2 separate regions of the Homo sapiens genome follow, and region 2 is linked to region 1. Evidence: promoter capture Hi-C in 16 types of primary human blood cells and fetal thymus (Javierre and others, 2016). All regions are on one chromosome and are shown on one strand. Each heading gives the region's core, a stretch centred on a gene start or on the middle of the fragment in contact. The rest is flanking DNA. Distances are from core to core; before and after follow the strand shown.

The links. Contacts are between HindIII fragments. The CHiCAGO score rates a contact against its expected background, and 5 or more counts as called.
Region 2: a contact is called between a fragment that was not itself captured here and the fragment with the promoter of PIGK in region 1, in 1 of 17 cell types (fetal thymus). The highest score is 5.4, in fetal thymus.

What each region holds. Positions count from the first base shown.
Region 1 is chr1:77,217,564-77,221,207 of GRCh38, reverse strand. PIGK (phosphatidylinositol glycan anchor biosynthesis class K) reads left to right here and starts at 1,778. Exons shown (of 11, transcript NM_005482.3): 1 at 1,778-1,898. The coding sequence starts at 1,806. It overlaps LOC105378808 (a long non-coding RNA gene), which reads right to left and starts at 1,688. Exons shown (of 3, transcript XR_001738109.2): 1 at 1,555-1,688; 2 at 215-420. RefSeq lists an enhancer at 1,985-2,094. The HindIII fragment of the contact is 2,966 bases long and covers 850-3,644 here.
Region 2 is chr1:76,161,442-76,165,085 of GRCh38, reverse strand. All of the region lies in intron 1 of ST6GALNAC3 (ST6 N-acetylgalactosaminide alpha-2,6-sialyltransferase 3), which reads right to left. Among named protein-coding and RNA genes, the nearest start is that of ST6GALNAC3, 89 kb to the right of the region's middle. The HindIII fragment of the contact is 742 bases long and covers 1,225-1,966 here.

The DNA of each region.
Region 1 (3,644 bases), core at 529-3,028:
TGGAACTGTGAGTCCACTAAGCCTTTTTCTTTAGAAATTATGCAGTCTTGGGTATTTCTTCATAGCAGTATGAAAATGGGTTAATACAAGTAAAGTCTCATCAAAGTGTGGGTATGAAGTTACATCTGGTCATGAATTTGAGGCATAATCATTAATCTTGTCAGACATTATCTTATGTACAGGAAGAGGCAAGGGCTAGGATCACCAAACTTACCTTTTGTAAAAATTCAGTGATTCAGGCAAGAGATGTGCAAACCTATTCCCTATCCTGCTTATGGTCTTCAAGGCATTCTTCCACAAGGCTGCTCACAGTCAATGAGTCAGGGGCTTTGTGAAATATTGCTGGCAAAGGAGCAGAATGAGCAAATGGCTTCTTATCTTTGCTACTTTGTTTCATAATCATCAGCATCCAATAGATATCTGTTGAATTAATGAATACATGGAAGATATTCTGGCAGTGTATTTACTTTCTAGGATTCACGTAACGGAAAACCTAAATTTGACTAAATAGCATGAAACCTCTCACAAAGTGCAATAGCAAAAGAAACAAATAAAAGGAAAAGAGAGACAAGAGAATGGGAAAAGCAATAGCATAAAATATGGCAAAGGCTAATGTTACTTATTTATAAATATATTATTCAAATTCATATGCAAAACATAAATATATAAACAAAGAATTTACATCAGAGGACACAGAGATAGTTTAGAAACACAAGAAAGACATCAGATCTTGATAGTAACCAAAGAATTATAAGTATAGTTACCTAGGGGTAACATTTCATACCAAAGAATTTAAAGGAAAAAAAATGGTATGGTTTGGTGTTGTGTATTCTGATAGTGCTGTAAGCTTGTTCATTTTGGAAAGCAACATCATTTATAGTTATTAAAATGTTTTGGAATATTTTGACCCCAAATTCCTAGTTCAGGAAAATTATACAAACAAAATAATTCAACAGATTTAAAAAGCCAAACACACAAAAGATACTCTTTACAATATTATTTTCATAGTAAAACTTAAAAACTTTGCATTGTGCAGCAGAGGGACAATTACTTTGGCTGAGGCATCAATAATGGATGGAATTTTATCTCACCATTAAATGTTAAAATTGTGAGGAAGCAGCGTGGAAACGTTTATGTCATACTAGATGAAATGCATAAATTAAAACTGAACTCACATAATAAAGAGAATGGTGGACCATACATATACACCAGCTGTGTCTCTTCCAGATAGGCTTTAGTTCCATAATTACAGAAGATACTCAAGAAACAAAAACGTAACTAGCTTCCCATGTTAATCCTTTCACCAGGTAGTAGACCCCAAGCCTCTAAATTGCAGCGCCCACCCACATTTTCCATTTATAGTTTATCCAATTAATCATCTTTTTGTGCCAAAACGCTTGTTCTTCCCACCACATCCAGCTTCATATTTTCAAAGAATTGGCAGCACTCGGCAAAATAAATAAATAAATAAATAAATAAATAAATAAAATAAATAAGGGAACAGAGAAATAAGTTTTTAAAGTTTAAGGAGTTACGGGTTTTCCCTCCACTCACCTTTCAATTTTTTTTCTTAAATGTTATACCTATTTTACAACCTCCAAACTGAAAATGCAGTTAAAAATAAAAAGGTCAATATCCTGCGTCTACCTTGTCCCGGACTCTCGAGCTCCACAAAACCGCAGAGTTCTAAAGCCGGACCAGAGGGCCACCTCGAAGAGGCGCGGATGGTGTCGCAAAAACCCGCAGCGCTACTTTACGGCACTGCCTCCGCCCCTTCAGGTGCGGGAAGTCTGAAGCCGGTAAACATGGCCGTCACCGACAGCCTCAGCCGGGCTGCGACTGTCTTGGCAACTGTGTTGCTCTTGTCCTTCGGCAGCGTGGCCGCTAGTCATATCGAGGTAGGAGTCAGGCTCATTTGACCACAGCCGGGAGGCCGGCTGTGAGCCCTCCAGCAGATGTCCGATACACAGTAGCTGAGGGACGCCTCCTGGAGTCAATCAGCCCCTGACCCAGGCTGGGTTTGAGGAGGGTATCACTGGGCACGGGTTAGGACACTGTTGGTCTGTTTCAGCGTTTTAAAACGATGAATTGAAATAATCAAACCCTCGGAGACAGAGGAGGACCTGATCCTTTGCTCCTACATGTGTGCAGTTCTTAGGTGAAATACGAGCAAGAGGCTCGTGAAATGTCAGTGTGCAGCAACTGCTTTCCTACTACTCAACTGCAGCCCTCTGTTTTGATAGGAGTCAGACGGAACTGGAGAGATGAGGGCAATTTTAAGAATCCAGATAATAGAATTTAGTGATAATTAGAACATGGGATAAATATAAGTGTTTATTAAAACTCTCAAGTTTCTGGCTTAGGGGCAACACGTCTGGGTTAAGAAATGGAAGAGAAAAGGGGTGCTTAGTTTTATCCTGGGCTCCTCCAGCTTCCCATTTTTAAACGTGGACACAGGATGTTCTGGTGCTCTATAATGCTTTTACTATTCACCATACTCTGATGATTCCTCAGTCCCGGTCTACAATCTAGATGTCTGGTATCTTTTTCAGGCCTGCATATCCAGCTGACTAAGAATCCGGGATAGTCAGGAGACATTTGAAAATCCGTGTGCAAAGTTTTATCTTCTGCTTATCCTACCTCCTCTTAAAAAGACACTGAAAAACTAAGCACCCCTTTTCTCCTCCATTTCTCAACCAGATGTGCTGCTCCTAAGCTAGAAACCTGAGAGTCTTAATCTCTTTATCCCATATTCTAATTATCACTAAATTTTGTGATCTGAGTTCTTAAAATTGCCCTCACCTCTCCAGTTCCACTGACTTAATTCAGGCTGTGATCACTTCTTGTCTAGACTCTTGCGATTACTTTATCTTGTTTTCCATAGGCCTCCATACTCCCTGAGTTTGGTGCTAGATTCGTCTACACGAAATGTAAGCCTGATCAGGTTATTCTTCTGATGAAATCTTTTAAATATTTATTAATTGCATACAGAATAAAGTCTAAACGTTATGACCTGGTGCTTGCCTACTTTTCCAGTGTTCCATATTGGAACCTCTTCTCCCCACCACCTGGGCACCTTGAGCTTAGACCAGTGGACTCCAAACTTTTTGAATACACACCCTATCAGTTAAAAAAAGATATTGAGCATGAACTTCATATATATTTATGAATTACTGTTAATTTATATATTTGATGTTTATATAGCATAATTTTTAGAGAACATAAATATGAGTAAATAGAAGTTCTGTTTCCCTCCTTTATTCTAACTTTGACTGCTTCATCTTGGATACTATTACTGTTTTTTGTAGTTACATAATTGCTGTGCTTTTTCACATTACAATATTTTATACATTGTGTTTCCTCTGTTCATGTGCTAAGATACAGTAAAGGCATAACCTCTGTAGAACGTTTCCCTATCTCTTACCTTTGCCTTTACTCTTGTAATTTGTACACTTGATACAGCACTCATTTACTATAACCCGTGTATGGTTTGTACTGTTATTCCATCATATCTCACTTAGAGATAGGAGCAACAGTTTCCTAAATGTTTTGCCTTGAGTCGTTGTTTTTTCCTTTCAATCTGTTCTCCAAATTGAAGCCAGAGTAACTTTTAAAAATGCAGTTCCAATCATGTCACCCAGGGA
Region 2 (3,644 bases), core at 346-2,845, 1.1 Mb after region 1:
CATGACACAAGTTTACCTATATAATACTAGGCTTAATACCTGGGTGATGAAATAATCTGTACAACAAACCCCCTTGAGACAAGTTTACCTATATAGCAAATATGCACATGTACCCCTGAACTTAAAAGTTAAATCTTAAAAACACACACACACATTTTAGTCCCCTCTCTCCAGCAATGCAGTTTATTACTACTATCTGCATTTTTTTTAGAAAGTCTTGCAGATAGATGCCTACATTTTTCAATCACATATTTTTTTTCATTCTGGCTCTACAAAATCAGCTTTGGCATTGACTAACATCAGCCTTTCCCCTTCCTAATTTATTTACTCAAATTATTTTTATCTTTAAGATTATGATAGCAATTCCTGTGTTTGCAACACCCTATTATTATGGACTTACTGTAAGTACATAATTTGAATAGTGTATTTAAAGATTGCTGAGATATTAATGTTTTAAAATCCACCTGATTTGAGAACTGCATAACCAACCAAGTAATCACTGGACTAACAATATTTAATGAAAATAATGCTTAGGAATCCTAGACAAACATACATGCCCTTAAAGGTCTGCTTAAGGGGTACATAATGTAAAAAACAGAGTATTTTTGAAGGTTGGGATAACTTCTTTTTCTTCTCAAAAGCTGCCATGATTTTCCCTAATAGCTACCATCTACTAAAAGCCTACTCTATGCCAGGTGCTGCCCCACCCCAGAAGTTCCCTTTAGTTGGGCAGGGCCCTATTGGAGTTTCTTTACTGGCCTGAAGACTGACTTACATGATCTGTGAGTGACATGTATAGTCTAGCTCCCAGCTCTTTCCCTCTCTCCTTGGAATGGGCTGCCCACAGAAATCCTCATTCTCCTTTGCACCCTCACAGCAGCAGCCTATCAGCATATCCCTAAATGCACAGGTAATTCTGGGGCTCAGTATCACAGAGCCCACTTAACCATAGATATAAGCTACACACTACAATCTAGAATTTAGTGACATTTTGATTCTTCATCTGTTGGTTTTTCACCTTATTTCTCAATTGGCTTAGAACTAGGGTAGGAGGGTGGGAACTCCTCAACAAATCCAACATCTTAAGCATTATGCCACAAAACTTAACAATGTGTAAAAGTAGCAAAATACATCTGGAGGAATTGAGGCTAAAGGTAGGTGGCTTTTGAGTTCTGGCATGCATGTCGGCCGTAACAGTTTTTAACTTTGGCAGTTAGCAAAGCTTGTACTGGATCACAGGAATGATTTTGATTGTCTGCAGCTACCTCTTCACTGTCATGCCAACATCAGGTAAATGAATTGTGGACAAATGAATTGTGTAAATTAGCTTGAATTTTCATAACCATCCTAAAATGTAAAAGTTGTATTTATTTCATCAAACCTAAAATGTCACTGAATTTAAGACACACCATTATTTTATAATCACCAACACAGAAAAAAAATACTGCCAATTAAACTATAACATGCCATTTATTGTAAGACACATTCAAGTTTTAGAGATGTTAAAATGTGAAGAAAAGAAAATGAGTCTTACAGTAAATGAACTATGGTACTATCCTCATTTTTTATTCAAGGTAACTGAGGCTTAAAAAGAATGACTTGCCCAAGATTATACACATAGAAAATGGTTAAGTTGTCGAATCTGGGTCCCAAGTGTACACCCTCCCAACACTGCCCAGGGTACACTACAGAATTTTAGGTGGAAGATATATTTCTGCAACAAGCATTACATATTTGTTAATCACTGTGGACTCAGCATTGTGCTAAGCCCTCTGGAGACTCATAATACAAAATCAGGGCTCTTCAGTGAATTTTCAATCAATTTGATGACTCAGGAAAGATACATAAAACTTCAAGAACAACTTTTAAAATCATATAACTAAGTGTTGATCTATATAGCACTGACTAAAATACTATAAGGTTTTAGAGTAGATTGGAATCAGTTCTGAGTTAGTCAAAGGAAGCTTCATTAAAAAGAGAAAAAGACTTAAGGTAGGCACTCAAGCTGCTTTAGGATTCAGCACCCTGAGAGGGAATCTAGAATAATGACAGTTGCCATTGATTGAACACCTACAAGACCCACGCAGGACTTTTCTCAGCTCTTCAAAACAGAGCGCATGCTCTCCGGTCTCTGAGTCCACACACATGCTATTCCCCTGCCTTGGACAGTCTTTCCCCAGCTCTGGGCCTGGTCACCTCCTCTTTGTCCTTCACGTCAACCTTTAATACTACATCCTGTATGGTATTCAAGGTAACTGAGAAGTTTTATGTGACCCCTAGACCTAGCTGGGCCCCCTTGCTAACTGCTCACCTGGCACTTACATACATTGCCCCTTTGTAATTATTTGTAAATATTTACTTTAAGGCTTGTAACTGTTTATGGTTATACATCCATTAGACCCAGCTGGGTGTGCTCACCACTCTACCTCCAGGACCAACTCATAATAGGAGCTCAATAAGCTGGCTCATGATTGTCTTAACCAGGCATCCACAAATTTTATCTCATTTAAACCCTCACTACAACACTGTAAGGTCAGTACCATTATTCCCCCATTATACGGTGAAGAAACTGGGGCTTAAAATAGCTAATTAACTCACCCGCGTCCTGCAACAGAGAAAACAAAACTTCAGCCAGGTGTGCCTGACAGCAAAGGCCATGTTATTAATCATTAGGTCATACTTTCCTTCTGCTCATAAACAAAAGCATAAAGGCAGGGATAGAATGGCATTTCATGGTGCAGAGAGACTTATCTGGCTACAACGGAGAATGCGCATGCAACAGATTCAAATTAAACATTTCTTGAGTACCTGCCATATGCCAGGGACTAGGCTGAGCATCTTTTACATGGATTATCTTATTTATTCTCACAATAACCCATGGGTTTAAATTTATTATGTCTATCTTATGATGGAGAAATACAGAGGTTAAGTAACATGCCCATTCACACAGCTGTTAAGCAGCAAAGCCAACATATTAAGCTGTAAGTTTGGGCAATGATGCAACCACAGTGGATTTTAGAGGATTTTGGAGCACAGTTTTTGAAGACCTTTTTTTGCCTGGCCCTGTCCCCAATTTGAGTGCCAACTGTCTGCCAATTGGCATTGGCAAATGTCGATTTCCAACTTTTTATGACCAACCCTGATCTTCAGTTAAGGGTTTTTGACCAAAGCCTGACAATATTTGACTGAAGCACTAATGCAAACTCTGGAATTAAATAACATTTAGAAAAGAAAGCCCAGTAGAAATACACAGACCCAGCATGAGGCACTGTGTTTAACTGGTGTATGTACAGACCCTGTCCAAATCAATGGGTGTCCCTTTAAGGCCAATTACGTAGCTCATTGTTGGGGCAAGCCAGAGTTAGGAGAGCCAAATTACAGAACAGCCCTCAGTAAAAAGAAATGTAAAGCTCTTTTCTCCAGAGATTGGGTATTATCTTCCCAGCAAGTACTTTAAGACATCAGCATCGGCCCATCTGCAATATAAATTTAGATCTCAGTAGAGTATGTAAAGCATCCTTGGGTGATTAGCAGAGAGAAAAATCTCCAGAGGTCCCACCATTAAATGAAGACCCACAGCACCTATCCTCCAGGGAGAGTGGAACTTGTTCTGCAGCTCTTGATGAAGGACTGAGGGGAGCGGC